Regions from separate parts of the Homo sapiens genome. Here region 2 is linked to region 1. The links are contacts of gene promoters, found by promoter capture Hi-C in blood cells and fetal thymus (Javierre and others, 2016). All regions are on one chromosome and are shown on one strand. The core of a region is centred on a gene start or on the middle of the fragment in contact, and the rest is flanking DNA. Distances in the headings are between cores, read along the strand shown. Region 1 holds the start of ALG1 (ALG1 chitobiosyldiphosphodolichol beta-mannosyltransferase). Region 2 overlaps UBN1 (ubinuclein 1).

Region 1 (5,042 bases), core at 2,536-5,035:
TATTCCCTCCTCCCCAGCCCCTACCAACCATGAATCAACTTTCTGTGTCTATGGTTTGACCTACGGTGGATATTTCATATAAATGGAATCATACAATGCGTGGCTTTTTGTGTCTGGCTTCTCTCACTCAGCGTGATGTTTTCAAGGTTCATCTGTGTTGTAGCACATGTCAGTACTTTATTCTTTTTTATGGATGAATAATATCATCTCCCGGGGAAGCCCCTCCTGCTCTGATGATTTAAGAGGATGAGGACTATGGAGATGACAAACCAAAAGTAGACACCTAGGCCGGGCATGGTGGCTCATACCTGTAATCCCAGCACTTTGAGAGGCTGAGGCGGGGAGATCACTTGAGGTCAGGAGTTCAAGACCAACATGGCCAACGTGGTGAAACCCTGTCTTTACTAAAAATACAAAAATTAGCCAGGCGTGGTGGCACGCAACTCTAATCCCAGCTACTTGGGAGGCTGAGGCAAGAGAATCACTTGAACCTGGGAGGCAGAGGTTGCAGTGAGCCGAGATGGGGCCACTGCACTGCAGCCTGGGTAACAGAGTGAGACTCTGTCTCAAAATATAAAATGAAATGAAATGAAATGAAATATAAAATAAAATAAAATAAAATAAAATAAAATAAAATAAAATAAAATGAAAACAAGACACCTGGAGCAGGGCGTGGTGGCTCACACCTGTAATCCCAGCACTTTGGGAGGCTGAGGTGGGCGGATCACTTGAGGTTATGAGTTTGAGACCATCCTGGCCAACATGGTGAAACCCCGACTCCACTAAACATACAAAACTTAGCCAGGCGTGATGGTGCAGGGCTGTAATCCCAGCTACTAGGGAGGCTGAGGCAGGAGAATCACTTGAACCTGGGAGGTGGAGGTTGCAGTGAGCCGAGACGGCACCCCTGCACTCCAGCCTGGACGACAGAGTGAGACTCCATCTCAAAACAAACAAACAAACAAGCAAACAAGGAGACACCTGGGAAACCTCGGGTGGGAGGCTGTGGGAGCTGTGGACAGACCGCATTCTGTTCATCACTCATCCACTGATGAGCCTCTGGATTGTTTCCATGATTTGATTCTTGTGGACAGTACTGATGTTTGTTTACAAGTTTTTGTTCGAAAACCTGTTTTTCATTCTCCTGGGTGTATACGTGGGAATGCCATTGCTGTGTCACGTGATAATTCTATGTTGAACCTAATGAGGGACCATACGACTGTTTTCCACAGTGGCTGGGCCATTTACGTGCCCACTGGCAGAAGATGAGGGTTCCTTATGTACTGCCCCATGAAATTTTATTTTACTTGTTTATTTTTTTGAGACAGGGTCTCGCTTTGTCACTTAGGCTGGAGTGCAGTGGTATGATCATGGTTCACTGCAGCCTCGACCTCCCTGGGCTCAGGTGATCTTCCCACCTCAGTCTCCCGAGTAGCTGGGACTATAGGCACACGCCACCACCATTTTTTGGGTATTCTTTGTAGAGATGGGGTTTCACTATGGTGCCCAGGCTGGTCTTGAACTCCTGGGCTCAAGTGATCCTTCCGCCTCAGCGTCCCAAAGTGCTGGGATTACAGGCATGAGCCACTGCTTTCAGCCTTCATAAAATTTTAATACTGCAGATATACTGCATGCTTGTGTATTGTATCATTATCTGTGCTTTATACATAAAAAGGGTAAGGATGTTTTGCTCCCCAAGAGCCATTTTTGCCCCCTTGGGAGCACCACTGGGAACAGAGGTTCTAGGGGAAGCTTGTCATTGTCATTACTTCTGTTAATCCTTGATCACCCCTCAAGTGGGTGCTCAGTCAACTTGAACAAAATCTGAGGCTCCAAGGGAGATTGAGTGACTTATCCATATATCCTCTTGATTGTTGGAAAGACTGGATCTCATGTGGAATGGATGCCAAGTGAGAAAGCCGGACAGGTGGGCTGGCCCAGCTATGAAACCGCCCCCCTGCTGGGGATGGCTCCGTCCCCTCTCTCCAGGAGACACCACGGCAACTCCCTCCCCGACGGAGGTTCACCTACCAGAGGGAGGCATCTACTTTTGGTTTGTCATCACCATAGTCTTTATCCTCTTAGCTCATCAGAGCAGGACAGGCTCTCAAAGACTTGAAGTTCCCCTCCCTTAATTCACAGACGAAGAAAGCAAATTGATGGGGAGTGACTCGCCCGAGGTGGAGCAGGAAAGCCAGGAGTCCTGAGGCTGAGGTCCCAGATCCCTACCTGTCCCATTACAGAGCGTCGACAGAGTTGGGCAGGCGATGTGTCACAGGCCTCCACCCCAGCACACGCAACCTGGAGGCAGGGGCCTCGCTGGGAACTGGAGGATAAATGCCGCTGCCAGCATGTTTGTATGCCCATCCCTGCTGTCTGCAGATACTTACTCGTCCTTCCTTTCCTTCTGAAAGCTCGGGTTTCAAGGTCTGGCTTAAGGCGTGAGCTGTCCCTTCTGAATCCATAGAAAGGGAGTGATGGGGCAATTGTGAAAAGCAGATGCAAAGTGTGCCAAGCCCTGAGCTGAGCCCAGGGACACTGGGGAGCCACATCCATGTGGGCTACCCTGTCCCGTGGGTGCTGCCTGTGGTCCTCATCAGGGGAGGAGTCTTGTTTGTTTGTTGAATACGGTCTGGGTGGTGGCTCTCCAGGTTCTGCGGCAGCTCCCAAGTGGAGGCAATGGGGTAGCATCACCAGTGAGCTCTTGGTGTTTCTCTGCAAGGGACCGCTTTCAAAGAAAAAAGGTCATGATACGGTTTGGCTGTGTCCCCACCCAAATCTCATCTTGAATTCCCATGTGTTGTGTGGAAGGGACCCAGTGGGAGGTAACTGAATCATGGGGTCAGGTGTTTCCCGTGCCGTTCTCGTGATAGTGAATAAGCCTCACGAGACCTGATTGTTTTATAAAAAGGAGTTTTCCTGCAGAAGCTCTCTTTTTGCCTGCTGCCATCTATGTAAGAGGTGACTTGCTCCTCCTTGCCTTCTGCCATGATGGTGAGGCCTTCCCAGCCATGTGGACCTGTAAGTCCATGAAACCTCTTTCTTATGTAAAGTGCTCAGTCTCGGGTATGTCTTTATCAGCAGCATGAAAACGGACTAATACAGGCCATCGCAGAGACACACATTAAACTCTCACTATGGCTACTTTGGGAGGTGAAATTGGAGGGTCACTGTGGAAATTTCCTTTCTAGCCATTGATACTTAAGCAAAATCATGATGGTGTTTACTTCCTTGTTTGTCCTTCCCCCTCTCTACCTTTTAAATGTTTTATTAAGTGTGATGTACACCCTGGAAAATGGGCAGGTAATCTGCTGCTTGAGGTACCGCCCCAAATGCAGCACACCCACATTACCAGCACCAGATCCAGAAGCAGAACCCACCAGCCCCTAACTTCTAACAGCGAGGACTGGTTTTTATTTACATAGACGGAACTCTACAATTCGTACTCGTCAGCATCTGGCTCCTTTATCAATGTTAGGATGAAATTTATCCAAATTCTTGTGTCACTATATTTTGAAATTATCTTTGAATCCTGAAGAGAGTTCTTAGATCCCAATACAGTAACAGCTTTACTTTAGTCGGGGAAATACACTGGTGTGTAGGGAATCTGGTGTATGTGCGTGTGTCCTACTACTACTAATTCTTGGCCCCGAGGGGCTCCTGGGGGTTCCCCGGGCCCCTGTTAGGGAACCGCGTCCACTTCTCGCCCTCTCGGCCCACTTCGGAGGCTCGGTCTGCGGCTGCGCACAGCGCGAGGAAGCGCGGTCACGTGACTGCTGCGGGCCAGCCAAGATGGCGGCCTCATGCTTGGTCCTGCTGGCGCTGTGTCTGCTGCTGCCGCTGCTGCTGCTGGGAGGATGGAAGCGCTGGCGCCGGGGGCGGGCGGCCCGGCATGTAGTAGCGGTGGTGCTGGGCGACGTGGGCCGCAGCCCCCGTATGCAGTACCACGCGCTGTCGTTGGCCATGCACGGCTTCTCGGTGACCCTCCTGGGGTTCTGCAGTGAGTGGCCAAGGGTCTGGGAGGGACGATGCTCTCTCAGCCGTTGATCCTCGGTTCTAACCGCCCCGGGGAGTCGAGGCGGAAGTGCTCCTTTAGTCGCCGCCTTTGGGCAGCTCTCCGAGATTAGACGAGCGGTTCTGCCCCAGCCTTTCCTGGGTGGGTCTCTAGGTATAGCCGGCGTTAATCTTGCCACGTGTCAGAAGTGTGTTAAGTGAATCCATTGCGTGGTCTCACGTAATTCTCCTAGTAAGTGGAACCCAGGTGCGTGGAACTCCAGGGCTAGTGCTGGTAGCTACGTCCCTGTGCAGCTACCCTTGTCAGGCTATGTCTGAGCTGACAGGATATTTCATTCCTCATCCCTCAACGCAGAGCTCTGCAGACAGATGTTTTCATTTGTTCTTCATGTCCAGCTTTTCCCCACAGTGTGCAGGGCAGCGGTGTCTGCTCCCTCATTATTCTCCACGTTGGTATCTTGAGAGGGTAGCTCAACCCCATCTCAGGAAGAAGTGGGAACAGCACTAGTTGCCTTTAATCCCTGTTTAGAATCTGCTATCCTAGGGTGATGGGGTAGAGTGGGACTTCCTAGGGATGGCTCTGTGGTGGGAAAATTCCACTATCCAGACAATCTAGATTAGTTTAATTGAGCACCTACTGTTTGCCAGGCATCATGTTAAGTGAAGGTAGGTAAGATTCAGGCCCTATCTCTGTGTGCCTCCTAGAGCAATCTGAACAAGAATTGGCCGCATTCTCTGTTCTGGCTAGTGAGGAGCAGAGAGAGGTTTTGAAATATCTTACTTTCCAAAACACTGTCCGTGATTCAGCCTGAGTTGGGAGATTATCTGACTTTAGATTGCTGCTTCTGGTACATTAAAGGGATCATTCTCATTTTTCAGACTCCAAACCCCATGATGAGCTCTTGCAGAACAACAGAATTCAGATTGTGGGGTTGACAGAACTTCAGAGTCTTGCAGGTAGGATGCCGTCAACTCCAGAATCCTCTGAATCCATGGGCTGGGGGCAGGGGGTGTTCGTTTGAAAAGCC
Region 2 (5,042 bases), core at 1,565-4,064, 200 kb before region 1:
AAGCTTTGTGATGTGTGGACGGCCAGATAGCCGGACTTAAGGGGTTAAAGAGAGGCTCTTGGGGGGCATATAGGAAGCAGACTGGAGGCAACAGGCTTCGCCGGCCTCCTGGGGAAGATGCCCTAAGAGAAGGCAGGGAGCAGAGCTGAAGATGGGCGAGTTGGTGGATGGCTGGGCCAGATCGTGGAGGACCCCAAATGCCATGTGAAGGAGTTTGGGTTTGATACCAGGCTTGGAAAGAGCTGCTGAAGGGTTCTGAAGAAGGGAGTGGCGGTCTTAAGGTTGGAGTGCAATTATTAGAAGTGGGGAACACAGGGGAAGAGCAGAAGCCAGTGGGTCTGGTGTAAGTTGAGTTTGCAAACCAGAGGGTCATCCATCCACAGAAGTGCAGTTGACCCTTGAACAACACAGGGTTTAACTGCGTGGATCCACTTACACGCAGATGTTTTCTAACCAAATGTGGGTTGATTTGAGGGATGCTAAATCTGTGTATAGAGGGCTAACTTTTTGTATAGGCAGGTTCCTCAGGGCTGACTGTGCAGTTGGATTTTGGTATATACGGGGGTCCTGTAACCAATCCCCTGCCTATACCAGGCGTTGACTGTAATTGGGAAATTTCTCAGAGATAACTGGAAATTCTGGTCCAGAGCTTAGATGAGAGGATTTAGGGCTTAGTTTAGATTTGAGTGTACAATTGTCTGTGTTATTTTGAAGCCCTGAGGGGGAAAGAAGTTATTGGGAGAAGTGGGTTCTAGTGAGAATCCTGGGGTCCGCCTATGGAAAGGAGCTGGTGGAGGAGGCAGATGGAGCAGTTAGAGTGGTTGGAAGGGGCCCCAGAGGATGCAGTGAGAGGAAGGTGAGTGGGGGAGATGATGGTGAGGGGTTAGCAGTGTCTGCAATTTCAGAGGGGTTGATCCCTTCATTCTAGATAGTCACCTTATCACCCTTGTTTGCTGTCGTTACTGTATATCATGTCTGATTTCAGAAATTTTATTTCACCCAAAGCCTTCAGACCAGCAGCTCTTGGGTTGAGAGGAATGGTTCCCAGCCCTTTTTGCACATCAGTGTTCCCAGGGTTGCTTTGAAAGAGTACTTGGGCCACTTTTGAGAGTGTGCATTCCTGAATCTCCTTTCCAGAGACTGTGATTTGAATGGCCTGAGTTGCTCCAAGCTGCCCAGGGAATTCCAATATGCAACCAAGTGTGAGAACCCTGATGCAGACTTCCACAGGGTCTGCTTTTTTGTGTTCCCGCTGTGTCGTGGCTGCCTGCCGTGGTTGCTTCAGGGGTCTCTGAGCTTGCCATCCAGGGTGTGTGTTAACTGTGTTCTTTTCGAAAGCAAACTAAGACTGTACTGAAACTCCTATAATCTGGTGTTAATAGGTAATATGGTGGGTTAATTATTCACATGGTCTGGCTAATAGAGAGCTCGTGGTATACCATAAGTAGATTAGGAATTGTCAAAGAGTTTTAATGTCCTTAAGTGTTAGAGCTACACATTATTATTATTTTTGTAGATAAAAAGGCCTTTAAATCCTATAGACTGGTTGAAGTTCTTGAATATTTTTGTACTGTAGATACATGGAAATCCCAACTAATGGTGTAGTTGATGGTGTATGGGTGCAGGGGTTAGTTGGCCTTATTGGCCTCTGGCTAAGTGCATTGTGATGGCTTTGACTCTGATTTTCTTTTCTGTGACTGTTTTAAGTCCCAGGAAGAACTGGCAGCCCACAGATGCTGCAGCAGCATTTGAAAAGAGAATATTGATCGCAGGCGAACTTAACCTGGGACTAGGGTGGAGTTGGAAAGGTGGCGGTGTGACTGTATTGACAGGTGCTCTTTATGGAGCGATGACTCCTGTGCCTGTGGGTGAGCGTAAGGGACATGTGGGGAAAGTGCACTAACGGCTGTTACTGTCTGCTGTGCACCAGGCTGCCAGAGCTGCTGAGGGGGAGAGCAGACAGAAGTTCTTCACCCAGGATATTAATGGAATCCTATTAGAGTGAGTATCGTCTGTCTGTCTGTCTGTCTGTCTGTTTCTGCTATTACTGAGCTTGGGGCAAGCCAGCTAGGGGACAGTGGGAGTACAATTGAACTGCATAAAGGTGACCACCAAGGAGATAAAAGAAGAATTGGATTAACATGGTTTCATTGTTATTTTTCTTTTAAAAATCAAAACACAACAGGGACACCAAGTACTTGTCTCCAGAAGCGATAGACCTCCTTGATCTTAGGCAGCAGGCATTAATAACATGTGATAATCATGGCCTGTTAGAAGAGGATTTCTTGGCAGGTATGAGATGAGGAGAGAGAGAAGGTGTTGCCTGACTGTCTCTGAGAATCCTGAAGAATGAGAGACAGCCTGGTGGCCTCGGGCCTGCTCTGCCTTGGGTGTTGCTTGGCGTCCCTGGCTGTTCCGCTCGCTGGCACTCCTGTTCCTAGTGCCACGTGCATCATCCCTAATGCTGTTCCCACATGCCTGAGCCTCTGAGACACCACGCTGTGTGAATCGGGTTAAAAAACAGATGAGCAAACATTTGTAAATCCAGACTGGGAAAAGTGAATCCTTGTGGCCTGGCCTGCAGTGTTGCCGCTTTTCTCCTGGTTGCAGTTTGTGGCAGGGGAAGCTTGTTGCTCAACAGCTGAGGAGTTTGTGTGTGTAAGAACAGTTGTCAAAATGTGGGTGTTCTACCACATGGCCTCGCCTGGCCGGGACCTGGATTGGCCCCTTGGGTCAGGAAGTGTGAGCTGCAGAGAGCACCTGAGCATTGGTGCGGACGATAGGATTGTGTCAACAAGGAACCTGCTTGAGCGTGCCAAATGTGGACAGCTCAAGGCATTGAAGAGAAATATTTTTTTGCTTATCTAGATGGAGAAACTGGAGGGGTGAGGCTTTCCCTGACCTCATAATGGTTGATAAACGTGGGGACTGGGGGAAAAAAAAGAAATGCTGCCGGGAAGTGTCTCCTTTGAACCCCAAGTAACTCATGACTTTCCACTTTGAAAGCTTTCATGTTTTCTCTATGAAATTTAGTGCTTCAGAGCTTGTTCTCCTGGGCTCTGTTTTCCTGGTATTGTGACCTAAGAGCCTTGGCCCACATTACCTAGCCATGTTCATCAGGCTTGGGAGTTGTTGTTGTTTGTTGATTGCTGAGGATGTGTTTCCTTGGGCATTCAGTTACATTGTGTGACCAACAAGACAGGGTTTGACTGCCGTTGGCTCCTAGCTTTCCTCTCCACGTACGGTGAGCTGATGAAGACAGGAGTTGCAGTGAGCTGCAGCCGGTGGTGACTGTGTTTTGTTCTTCAGCATAGAGGCGCAGACTCGGGAGCTGAGCAGTCAGGTCCGCTCTGGGGTGTATGCCTATCTTGCGTCATTCCTGCCCTGCAGCAAGGATGCCCTGCTCAAGCGTGCTCGGAAACTTCACCTCTATGAACAGGTGGGTGACTCTAGAGTGAAGCCCTTTGGCTTTGGGGTCCTGGCGGAGGGGTGACTGAGTCTTAAGCAATGATGCGTCTGCTGCCCCACTGCCTCCTTGTGATCACCCCATCATGCGTCCTGAGCGTAAGAGCGATGTGTAAACCTGCCTTGAATTGTGTCCCGCTCTTCGCAGGGGGGCCGTCTGAAGGAGCCTCTCCAGAAGCTCAAGGAAGCCATTGGCAGGGCGATGCCAGAGCAGATGGCCAAGTACCAGGACGAATGCCAGGCACACACGCAGGCAAAGGTTGCCAAGTAAGTTTGTCCTGGCGCTTGCAGGTGCAACCCTCCCGTCTTGCCTCTTCCCCTCCCGTTTCTCGGTGTGTACTGCCGTTTCCCAAGGAGCCTCTTGGCTCTTCTTTGGCCTTTTCTCCTTCTCTGTGAAGTCCCAGTAGTGCAGAGTGAGGGGAGAGGCGGTGGGCAGGAGCACCTTGGGGCCCCATGTAATTCTATTCACCCCGTAGGATGCTGGAAGAGGAGAAAGACAAGGAGCAGAGGGACCGGATTTGTTCGGATGAGGAAGAAGATGAAGAAAAAGGGGGCAGGAGGATAATGGGACCTCGGAAGAAGTTCCAATGGAATGATGAGATCAGGTGTGCCCACACTGGGACTTGGCCTCTTTGGAGGGTTGGTGGGGCAGTGTCTGAGCACGTCCCCTATTGCTGACAAAGGTTAGGCTCATTTACTTTCATCAGGGCTGCTGAAAGCACATGATTGGAACCTTGGAGCAGCATCTGAAGTAGTTTGGAGTTTCTGATTTCTGCCTCCTTCTCAGGGAGCTACTGTGCCAGGTGGTGAAGATCAAACTGGAGAGCCAGGACCTGGAGAGGAACAACAAAGCCCAGGCTTGGGAGGACTGTGTGAAGGGCTTTCTGGATGCGGAAGTCAAGCCCCTCTGGCCCAAAGGCTGGATGCAGGCCAGGTGAGGGCCGTGTGCTGAGATGGGCATCTGTGCAGTCAAGACACGTTTGAACGCTGCTTTTGTGCCAGGCCAACAGGATCCTTGCTCACAGGGAGTCACTGTCTAGCTGCCTCAACTCTGATCTCACCTGAGTAACTGGGGGACATGCAGGTAGCTGGGAAAGGGTCTTCTGGATCTTCCCTGGAGGAAGGGAAGTTGCCTCCAGGGTTTTGTTTTTGTCATTTTTTGTCCCACTTCAGTTGATGTTTGGCCTCCCATCTCAATATGCACTTTCCTTTTTTTTTTTTTTTTTTTTTTTTTTTTGAGATGGAGTCTCGCTCTGTTGCCTGGGCTGGAGTGCAGTGGTATGATCTCAGCTCACTGCAAGCTCCACCTCCCAGGTTCACGCCGTTCTCCTGCCTCAACCTCCCGAGTAGCTGGGACTACAGGTGCCTGCCACCATGCCCGGCTAATTTTTTGTATTTTTAGTAGAAATGGGGTTTCACCGTGTTAGCCAGGATGGTCTCAATCTCCTGACCTTGTGATCTGCCCACCTTGGCCTCCCTAAGTGCTGGGATTACAGGCGTGAGCCACCACACCCGGCCACACTTCCTGTTTTAACATACAGGCTGCTATGAGCATTTGAGAGATGGGTTCATCTTGG

What was found. Contacts are between HindIII fragments. The CHiCAGO score rates a contact against its expected background, and 5 or more counts as called.
Region 2: a fragment that was not itself captured here is called in contact with the fragment with the promoter of ALG1 in region 1 in 1 of 17 cell types (M2 macrophages); the score reaches 6.1 in M2 macrophages.

Annotation. Positions count from the first base shown.
Region 1 is chr16:5,068,058-5,073,099 of GRCh38, forward strand. ALG1 (ALG1 chitobiosyldiphosphodolichol beta-mannosyltransferase) reads left to right here and starts at 3,786. Exons shown (of 13, transcript NM_019109.5): 1 at 3,786-4,000; 2 at 4,894-4,971. The coding sequence starts at 3,793. RefSeq lists enhancers at 3,816-3,875, 3,906-4,015, 4,186-4,245. The HindIII fragment of the contact is 10,202 bases long and covers 1,751-5,042 here.
Region 2 is chr16:4,866,903-4,871,944 of GRCh38, forward strand. It overlaps UBN1 (ubinuclein 1), which reads left to right. Exons shown (of 18, transcript NM_001079514.3): 8 at 1,931-2,001; 9 at 3,310-3,439; 10 at 3,614-3,732; 11 at 3,942-4,070; 12 at 4,253-4,399. Among named protein-coding and RNA genes, the nearest start is that of UBN1, 22 kb to the left of the region's middle. RefSeq lists a silencer at 3,896-4,081. The HindIII fragment of the contact is 380 bases long and covers 2,625-3,004 here.